2 separate regions of the Homo sapiens genome follow, and region 2 is linked to region 1. Evidence: promoter capture Hi-C in 16 types of primary human blood cells and fetal thymus (Javierre and others, 2016). All regions are on one chromosome and are shown on one strand. The core of a region is centred on a gene start or on the middle of the fragment in contact, and the rest is flanking DNA. Distances in the headings are between cores, read along the strand shown. Region 1 holds the start of PTPRK-AS1 (PTPRK antisense RNA 1). Region 2 overlaps THEMIS (thymocyte selection associated).

Evidence for each region. The method cuts DNA at HindIII sites, captures the fragments that hold promoters and counts their contacts. A CHiCAGO score of 5 or more calls a contact.
Region 2: a fragment that was not itself captured here is called in contact with the fragment with the promoter of PTPRK-AS1 in region 1 in 2 of 17 cell types (naive CD8 T cells and total CD8 T cells); the score reaches 8.2 in naive CD8 T cells.

What each region holds. Positions count from the first base shown.
Region 1 is chr6:128,024,359-128,029,875 of GRCh38, reverse strand. It overlaps PTPRK-AS1 (PTPRK antisense RNA 1), which reads right to left and starts at 2,011. Exons shown (of 5, transcript NR_125849.1): 1 at 1,953-2,011. The region is part of intron 13 of PTPRK (protein tyrosine phosphatase receptor type K); the gene reads left to right. The HindIII fragment of the contact is 8,791 bases long and covers 1-5,517 here.
Region 2 is chr6:127,887,367-127,892,883 of GRCh38, reverse strand. The region is part of intron 1 of THEMIS (thymocyte selection associated); the gene reads left to right. Among named protein-coding and RNA genes, the nearest start is that of THEMIS, 11 kb to the left of the region's middle. The HindIII fragment of the contact is 4,989 bases long and covers 1-4,776 here.

The sequences.
Region 1 (5,517 bases), core at 762-3,261:
AACCTAAGCAGTGATATTTTTGAGAGTATAGATTCTTTCTTCTTTTATCTTTCATCCTCAATCTCCAGCACATCTGGATCATGATGCTTTACAAGTATTTTGAAGAGTAAGCAAAGTAAGAAATTTGGCCTTCATTTGGTGTGTTAGTTAGTCCTTGCATTGCTATAAAGTAATATGTGAGGCTGGATTATTATTATTATTATTATTATTATTATTATTATTATTATTATTATTATTTTGAGATGGAATCTCACTCTGTCACCCAGGCTGGAGTGCATTGGCACTACAACCTCTGCTTCTTAGGTTCAAGTGATTTTTCTGCCTCGCCTCCCCAGTAGCTCGGATTACAGGTGCCCGCCACCCTGTCCAGCTAATTTTTGTATTTTTAGTAGTGATCGGGTTTCACCATGTTAGCCAAGCTGGTCTTGAACTCAAATGATCCACCTGCCTCAGCCTCCCAGAGTGCTGGGATTACAGGTGTGAGCCACTGCATGCAGTCAGAGACTGGGTAGTTTATAAAGAGAAGAGGTTTAAATGGTTCATGGTTCTGCAGGCTGTAGAGGAAGCGTAGTGCTGGCATCTGCTTCTGGTGAGGGCCTCAGGGAGCTTACAATCATGGCAGAAGGTGAAGGGGAACCATGTATCACTTGGCAAGAGAGGGAGACAGGAGAGGGAAGGTCCACACTCTTTAAACAACCAGATCTCACAAGAACACTCATTACTGTGAGGATGGCACCAAGGCATTCGTGAGAGAGCCAACCCCCAAAACCAAAAACCTCCCACCAAGTCCCATCTCCAGCATTGGGGAATACATCTCAGCATGAGATTTGGAGGGCACAAACACCCAAACTGTATCAGTTGATCAAGAACTGACCATGGAAGATGGATAGTTGAAGTCACAAGCAGTCCAGCACAATTCTAACCTTACCATGAATCTGAATTCTTAGCTCACTAAAGATTTAGGAACAGAATTGGGGAGTAGAATTATGGTCATGTAAAAATAGAGTCCGTTTAACATCCTAACCTTAAATCAGAAACCATCAAAGCATCATATCAACAAAAAAATTGTTTTCACTTATGAAAAATATGAATATTAACACAATTTTGTTGCACACTTACTCTCTGCCATATGTCTTACACTAGGCATTGAGAAAATACTAAAAATACATAGGATATGTTCCATGCTCTCAAGAAGTTGTGAATTGTGAAAGAACCTGATAGTTGAAGTAATAATTTCATGCAGTGTGCCTAAACATGAAATAGAATTCCATACAAAGTGACATTTAAATAGGTAGAAAAACCAGAGACCATATCCACACTGGTAACAGCATGGGCAGAGGTTTGCAGTTAGACATGAAAGTTAATGCAGTGTTCAAGAATATACTGAGGAGTTAGTAAGAAATTAGGCTAAAATGTATGTTGATACAGATATGAGAAAGGGCTGTAAGACTCAAGATTCACTTTATCTTGAGGGCAGGGTGGCAGCTATCAACAGTGCTAAAGCACTTTCTCTTCCACTTTAAAAATTAAAACAGTGTGGTAACCTTAAAAGGTGTTCTGAAACAATATTCTAAGCAACTGTTATCACTTTTGCTTTTTCCTTTTTTTTATCAGGTGCTTACTTAAACATTTCTCATAATTGCAAAGATTGTGACTTGTAATTATTTGTAGTTACTATTTTACCATGAGCTTTACCCACATTTTTATGTGTTTTAATTTTAAGTGGCTAAATATTATTATAAATAGTGTGTGCAGTATAATTTATATTCGTCATTTTCATTTTCCCTGAAATCTTTGTAGGCTATTAAGAAGAACAATGATAGGATCATATTTAAGTTTTAGAAAAATGACACCTTAAAAGCTGCAGGTAGATTAGGATGAGTAGGACTTGGAGTCAGAAACTTCAATAAGGGAGTGGCTGCAATATAGACTAGGAAAGAGGTGATACCAACCTGTCAGTGTCCTCATCGGTAAAAGAAGATACAGCTGGGCACAGTGGCTTATGCCTGTAATCCCAGCACTCTGGGAGGCCAAGGTGGGCGGATCACTTGAGGCCAGGAGTACGCACCAACTTGGCCAACAGAGTGAAACCCCGTCTCTACTAAAAACAAAAATTAGTCAGGCACAGTGGCACACGCCTGTAGTCCCAGCTACTCGGGTGGCTGAGGTAGGAGAATTGCTTGAACCCAGGAGAAGGTTGCAGTAACCTGAGATGGCTCCACTGCACTCCAGACTCGGTGACAGAGCAAGACTCTGTCTCAAAGGAAAAAAAAAACATACAACAAGCCTCATAAGTGCTTGTGAAAGCTAATTGAAATAATATATTAAAAGAGTTTGGCATTTAGAAAGCTCTGAAACGATCATTCATTTAACAGAGGAAGCTATGAACATTTTTTTTTTAAAGGTCAGTTTGACTTTTAGGCACCTGATTTCCTGAAGGACTCTTTGAACTCTTTGAATGTGGGTACTGTTTTATGCATTTTCATGTGATAACTAAACAGCCTGATTTACATTCTTGCCCAATATACGTATTTCTTCAAATAATGAACTAATGAATTCCCGGGCAATAAATACCTTTTGGTTAAATGGACAAACAGTTCTGTTCAGTGGGAAACATGCTAGTAGAGTCTGCTTTTAAAGGAATTGCTGTATGCAGTATTCTAAGAAATAATGAGGAAGTATTTTTACTTCAAAATACTTTGATCATAATATGATGATAGGTATTTTCTTCTCTTGCCTGTGAAAGTGTGTGTTAGGTATGTACATTATGGGGCCAAACTAGTGATTGTTGCTAATTAGGATATATGTGGCGCATTCTATCAAGAATCCCAGTTTTCTGGGCACTGTGAGCTGTAAGTCAAGTCATAAAAAGGAGTGAATTGTCTTTTTCATATATAGCACTGAAATTGACTGGAGTTAATTATTTAATGCCTACCTCCCCTACTAGACTACAGGCTGTGTCACACACCTCCCTCAGCATCTAGCACAGCAAATGGATTTAGTAATATTTATTGAATAGATTAAGAAATACAGAGTGAATAAAATAGGACACTGGTTGGAGTGTTGGGTCAACCACAATTTTGGTGTGATATATTCTACATATCACAGTGAGAAGGAAAATGATATAAAATGAATAATATCCTCCTTAAAGTACTATACAAAAAGAATACTTCTTATATTTTTTCAAGATGATGTAATCTTGTCAAATATATAATATGTTGCATGCCAGTGCTTTCTTAATCCTTAATAGTAATACCAGTAATTGTATATTAAGTTCCTGCTATGTGTCAAATACTTCTAGGTACTTTAAATGTATATTCAGTAATCTTCAGAACAAGCCTAGAGAGCAGAATTTAGTTATTTCATTGTAAAGATGAGAAAAGTGGGTCTCAAAAAAAGCAGATAACTTGTCCCAGATCACACAGTAGTTTTTCTTGGTACCTGGAGTGATTTTCATCCCTCTTTCAAATACAACCCTTTGGCTATTGGGAAGTAGCTATTACAACTGTATTTTTTCTTTAACTTGATGTAAGGGAAAGACCACTTTACACATATACAAATAGGAGAAAGTTTTGCCAGACCTTCTGCAGCTAGTATTTACATGAGTGAGTAGAGAATTGTAAGAGGTTCTGGTAGCAGTAAAAACAAATTACAAACAACGGAACATGAAGAGAAGATGTTGTCTACCAACATCTGTCAAATATGGCAGATGATCTTCTTTGTCTTATTTTGTTCAATACCACTCAATATCATCACTTAGGCCTCTCTCTCTTACTGTTTAGATCTCTTGGGATTCTCTTAATTTTTTAAAGCCTATACCTTGAAAAATTCTGTTTAAAAATACATTGGAAAGCATATAGATTTTAGTAGGCTGAATAATGGCTACTGGAAGATACCAGGTCCTAATCCCAATAAGCTGTAAATGTTATCTTTTAGGGAAAAGCGGTCTTTGCAAATGTGATTAAGTAAAGGATCTTGACAAGGTAGATTATACTGGATTAACAGTGTGGGCCCTAAATCCAGTTACATGTATTCTTATAAGAGCAAAGCAGAGGAAGATTTGACAGAGGAGAAGTCAATGTGACCACAGAGGTAGAGACTGGAGTCATGTAACCCCAAGTCAAGGAATGCCAGCAGCACTGGTAGCTGGAAAAGGCAAGGAATGAGTTCTCTTCTAGAGCCTCAGCAGCGAGGGTAACCCTACTGACACCTTGATTTTGGCCCAGTGATACTGCTTTGGGGCCCTCTAGTTCCCAGAACTGTAAGAGAATAAATATGTGTGGTTTTTAGCCATCAAGTGTGTGGCAGTTTTCTGCAGTGGCCTTGAGAAACTAATACAGACATAGAAAATTATTTTATGACTTTTTCTTTTAGATGCAGTTGTTAAGTCAGCATTTGATCTTATTTGAGCTAGATAGAACCAGGGTTTTCTAATCTACAAACTATTGATTTTCATCTTGATTTAAATGTGTTTACTTATTCTTCCTCTATAAGGTAGGACAATTTTGCAAAAGATGTATAAGAATGTGTGTCTCCTTTCAGGTTCAGCTGAAATAATCTTCATATAACAAAAGTTAGAGAAAACAATCTGTCTGAGCCAGAGACTTCGTTATATGAATTCATACAAACTAATGAAGGAATACAAAACTTGGCCTCACAGGGAGAGAGTGGAGTGTCTTATGCAAATCTTTGTTGTCAGCCACATTCCTACATGCAGAATGCAAAAACCATGTTTCAGTTTGTTGAGGATTTGGAAATAGCTTGAGATAATCTTAATTTAAAAGGACTGGCAAATTCTTTCAGCTTTGTAGAATTTATTCCACATATGTCAAAGACAAACTTGTTGTACTGCAAAATAAACTAGTACTGTGTGATCTTAGTTGAAAAGGTAAATATTACAATTTACATTCTATTCTCTCATATTCATTCTTTTGGTACATGTTAATAAATTGCAAAACTATATTGCTGAAAAATCTAATGATCCTGAAAAATCTAATGATAAATTCTAGCAATTATCAGTGATTACAATATAGGCCTGGTTTGTTGTTGTTGTTGTTTTTGTTTTTGAAAAGGAATCTTGCTCTGTTACTCAGGCTGGAGTGCAGTGCCACGATCTCGGCTCACTGCAACCTCTGCCTCCCAGGAGGTTGCAATTCTCCTGTCTCAGCCTCCCAGGTAGCTGGGATTATAGGTGCCTGCCACCATGCCCAGCTAATTTTTTGTATTTTTAGTAGAGATGGGGTTTCACCATGTTGGCCAGGCTGGTCTTGAACTCCTGACCTCAAGTGATCTGCCTGCCTCAGCCTCTCAAAGTGCTGGGATTACAGGCGTGAGCCACCATGCCTGGCCATAGGTCTCATTTTGTACACTAAGAAAATGTCAAATTACTAATTTTCATACTTAGTGCTAAATTTACATTTATCATAAATGTAAACATGTAATAGAGAACCAGTAATTTTTTATTTTCCTTAAAAATGATCCTGGTAAATAAGAGAATTGATTCATAAGATCATGGTT
Region 2 (5,517 bases), core at 1,033-3,532, 140 kb after region 1:
TGCTAATGAAACAATAAATCATTATTTCTCTTTCAGGTCACTGGTATTAAAAGATTCACAAAAGTTATTGTAGGCATGAATGTGTGGAAAGGAGCCGAGGCACACTTGGTAATGTGTAAACGGTTACAGACTTTCGAGGTTGCAACTGGGTAATATTTATCTACAGAGAAAAATGTTTATAAACATCCAATCACTAGAAATTAATTTTAAAATACAATTACAAAAAGCAAAATAATGATTATATTAGAATGCTCATAGAAGCATGTTTTATAGAAAAATGTTAAGCGAGCCTAGAATGGAATAGCTTACATACATCCTAATAATGCATTATCAGGCATTGTCAAAGGGTCTAGAATTACAGTTGGGAAAAAAAGTAAAGCCCTCCCCTCTCGGAGCTTATATTCTAGTAAATGGGACAAATGACAAACCTAGATTTAGAATATATACAAGTGTCATGAAGCACTGACTGGAGAGTAAAGCAAGGTGAGGTGAAAGGTGATCTTTTGATAGGGTGACCGGGGCAGATTATCTCTGATGAAATTTGAGCAGGGACCTGAATAAACTGAGGAAATAAGCCTTGCCCACATCTGGAAGAACATCCCTGCTGAGGACAGAACAAGTGCAAACTACTGAAGAGCTTGCTTGGTCTGGATAAGAAACAGGGAGCAGCCCAGTGGTGCTGAAGGCAAGGAATTGGGGGAAGGATGGTGGGAGAAAGACTGAGGCGTGGGCAGGCCCAGACCTTGTAGGCCTTGAAGGCCAGAGTGACACTGAATGTGGTACAGAGTGGGGCTGGGAAACCCGTAGGACCTGTAAACTAATGTGGTCAGGGAAGGCCACTCTGAAGAAATGATTTTGGAGCAGAGACTTGAATATTGAGAAGGAATCAGCCAAGGAAAGATCTAGGTTCTGGAGTGTTCCAGAGTGAACAGACAGTGCAGACATCTGGGGACCAAAAGGAGCTTTGTCTGTTTGAGGAAGAGAAAACATATCCCTGTACCTTGAGCACATATAAAGCAGGGAGAAGAACATATGAGAAGAGGTTTAAGGAGTGGGCAAGAGCATTTCAAGGAGTTTGGGTTTTATGAGACGCCAATGACCAGTTTGAGCAGCAGACTGACAAGACCTGATTGCCATTTGAGGAAGATCACTGGCTATTTTGGGGAGAACAGGCATTAGTGAGGCAAAAGTGGAATGATATATTAGGAGACTGCAATAATCTAGAGGAGAGTTGATGGTGCCTTGATTTAGTGTGAAGAGAAAGGAACAGTTCAAGAGATGCTTTGGAGGTAGAAATGTCAGGACTTTCTTTTTCTTTGTTTCTTTCTTTTTTTTTTTTTTTTTTGTTGAGCTGGAGTCTCTTTCTGTCACCCAGACTGGAATGTAGTGGCGCAATCTCAGCTCACTGCAACCTCCACCTCCCGGATTCAAGCGATTTTCCTGTCTCAGTCTCACGAGTAGCTGGGACTACAGGTGCCCGCCACCAGGCCTGGTTAATTATTTTTTCGCATTTTTAGTAGGGACAGGATTTCACCATATTGATCAGGCTGGTCTTGAACTCCTGACCTCAGGTGATCCATCTGCCTTGGCCTCCCAAACTGCTGGGATTACAGGTGTGAGCCACCGCGCCTGGCCGAAATGTAAGGACTTTCTAATGGATTTGAAATTGAGGTGAGAAAATGAAAAGACTAAAGGATGAATTCAAGATTTTGGCCTAAACCACTGGGTAAATGTTTGTGTATTTGACAGAGTCATGAAGACCAGGGGAAGATGAGATTTTAGTGAGAAAAACAAAAGTTTTGTTTTGGACATATTAAATATAAATATCTATTACTCAGCCAAGTGGATATTTCAAGTTAGGCAATTAAAAATCCAACTTGGGCACAGAGGATGCTTGTGGTTGGAATGCCCTATCCATTACCTAATTGATCAGGACTTTATTTGATCAAAAACCTCATCAATTTAAAAAAAGAGGATGCCGCTTTCCATACATGTATTTCTCTATTGATATTTATATTCCTTCCAAAGCATACATAATAATAAAATTATAAAAAAGAAAGATAAAATTGATAATATACAATTTTAATTTTTGTTAATAATATACACTATTTTTCTCACAAAAGCTGTTAATTCTATTGTAACAACTAGCTAGTTTTTAAATTAATATATAATAATTGTACATATTTATGGGGTACATGTAATATTTTGATTCATACATACAGCGTGATCAAGTTAGAGTAATTAGGATACTGTTCACCTCAAACATTGATCATTTCTTTGTTTTGGGACTATTCCAAATTTTTTCTTCCAGTTATTTTGAAATAGACAATAAGTTATTATTCACTATGATCACCCTACTGTGCTATTGAACACTAGGCTTTATTCCTTCTAGCTAACTGTATTTCTGTATCCATTAACCAATCTCACTTCACCCCCTTCTCCCCGCTACCCTTTCTAGCCTCTGGTAACCACCATTCTACTCTCTTCCCTCCATGAGATCAATATTTTTAGCTACCACATATGAATGAGAATAAAACATATTAACTATCAATCTATTTTTAGCAGAAGTCATGTTACTGAAAATTATTGAAAATACTACATGTTTTTATTACTGAATACTGTTTTGGAAAATGCTGATTATCATGTGACCCAGTGATTCGAATGGTTCTAATTAATTTATTTTAGTGCTTGTTTTGAATGACAGCTATTGAAGATACCTCATCAAGGTCCAATATACATTGTATGTAATCTACTCATACAGCAGGTTTATCATTAATATTTGTGGCTATCACTCTGTGAAATAATCTTCATAAATTTCATGTTGTGAAATAATCTTCCTAAATCTGATTTTGGCAGTTTCATTAGATAGCAGTTGTACGCAGACAATGACAAGATTGTGCTAATAGAAGACGTGTCACTCTATCATTTTCTTCTTGATAGGGCCTGCAATCTTTAATTCTCAAATGTCTGTGTTGGCATCTTGTGACGTTATGTCTATTTTGTGAGAGTGAGTATAGATAGAATTAGATTATAACAATTCTTAAATCAACTTAACTTCACCTGCATTATGTTGTAGTATATTGAAAGTAAATGAATGAATTAAAACAATTCCTTTAACTCATTTTTTGAAATTCCCAATCTATCTTAGTATGTGACTTACCATACATGTCATATGACTATCCGATGCAGAGATAAATTAGGATTTTTAATATTAAATACTAGCAACCTTGAAATTAACTAATATAACTCTTTCTGTTAAATATTAGTATAGTTTAGTTTTCTTATTTGTTTTATGTGGAAATGAATACGAAGTTCTACTATTTTCCACTTTAACCTCATATCTTGTAATACTCTTTGGAATATGTGGCCCAATTTAGAGATCCCTGCAAGGAGCTAACACAATTGATGTTATGAGTCCCTCTCAGATTAAAGCTGTGGATAATTATGTATGACATATGCCATAGATAAATTGACTTGTGCTATCTTGTCCTCTTCAGTTCTTTAAGTGAGCAGTTTATAACCAAAGAACAAATCTGAGGAAAAAAATGGTGTTCATCTATTCCACTTTTCCACCTCTTTTGAGTACATGGTATGCTTGTACTTCCCAACCCTTTTGTGGTCACATGATCACATGACTTGTATTGGCAAATGTACTGAGAACAAAAATAATATGTATAATTTGGAACAGATACTTTAAGAACCAGTTCATAATTAAACATATTTCATCATGGTAGACTATGTCAAAATGAAATCTTCAATAGCCTATGTTGCTAAGTGACTATAATTAGCAGAGAACATGTCCTCATCCACCTGTACCTGACATGTAGTGAAATAAGAAATATACTTTATTGTTTAATCTCTGAGATTTTGAAGTTGTTATCTTAATATAAGCTACACTTCTCTCACTGATACAATAAATTATTTTTATTATGACTGGAACTGAAGTTATTATCAACTTCAAAAAATTCAAAACCAGGCATATTCTAAAGAGAGTCATATAATGTCAGGGAAGTTACTTGGGTAATAATGCTACCACATGTTCATAAGAAAGTGATTTTATCACTCTATTCAGGAAGCATCTGTTGCTTCTTTAACTACTCTTCATATTGCTAACATTACCATTTACCCCTGTTGACTTTGTATATGTAGCCATTTTGGTGTTGATTTAAAAATTTGGCAAAAAACAAAATTGGTTTGCATTATGATCTCTTTTGAAGAGCTGGATATTAATTTTTTTTTGCTTTAGAAAAACACATGTGCATGGTTGGTAATTTTATAAATGCAGAAATGCATAATTACCCATAATGCCACCAAACAGAGAGAAATATGGTTAACATTTTGATGTATTCTGTTATAATTTTTATAAAAATATGAATTAACTTTCAAGAAAAGAAAATTGATGCCCAAATTCCTTTTCCCCATGCTTTATAGGGAACCCCATAATTTCCCACAACTTCCATTTATCCCCTTAGTTCAAGCCATCATAATTTACTGCTAAGATTATCAAAATCTCCTAAATGCTCTTCCTTCTTTCATTTCTAAAATCTATTCTCAACATAGCATCTAGAATCATGGATGTCAGATTATGTCACTCCTCTGTTAAAAACCCTCCATTTTTTCTCAAAATAAAAATCTTATATGGGTAATAAGTCCCCACATTGTCTCCATGTTGCATTATTTATCTGAGTTTATTGCTTATTAATCTGCTTCTCCTCCTAGCCATACTAGCCACTTCACTGTTCCTCAAATTTGGGGATATTCTCCTGCCTTAAAGCTTTGTTCACACTTTTCATCTGGAAAACTCTTCTTCAGGACATCGACTTGACTAACTCCCTTCTCTACGAGGTTTACCCCAGCTGCCTCTTTATTCTTGCAATTTTTCTACTCCCCTTTCCCTGGATTCCCTGTCTTCCATATTCCGGTCTTCATTTTCCTCTGTACTGAAGCACCTAGCTCTTTCTTACGTATAAGTTAGGTATAGCATGTTTTTATGTCCTCTCTTATTAGATTTTTCTTACAGTTTTATCAAGGTATAATTTATATACCATAAAATTCAACCACTATAAGTATACAACTGAATGGTTTTAAGTAAATTGATAGAGTTGTATAATCATCATCGATTTAAGACCATTTTCATCATCTTAAAGAATTAGCCTGGGTTCTTTGCCATTAATCTCTATGGGCATTTCTAGCCCTAGGCAACAACTGATCTGCTTTCTGTCTATAAATTTGCCTTCTATAGACATTTCATATAAAGTAAGTCATACAATATGCAGTCTTTTTTATCTGGCTTCTCTCACTTAGTATGTGTTTGTGGTTCATCTATATTGTAGCATACATCAGTATTTTGTTCCTTTTTATTGGTAAATAGTATTTTATTGTATGGATATACCACATTTCGTTTAACACCAGTTGATGGACACTCAGATTGTTTCATGATTGCAAGTATTATGAATAATATGTCATTTTACATTTTTACCATTAATGTATAAGGATCCCAGTTTCTTAACATCCACG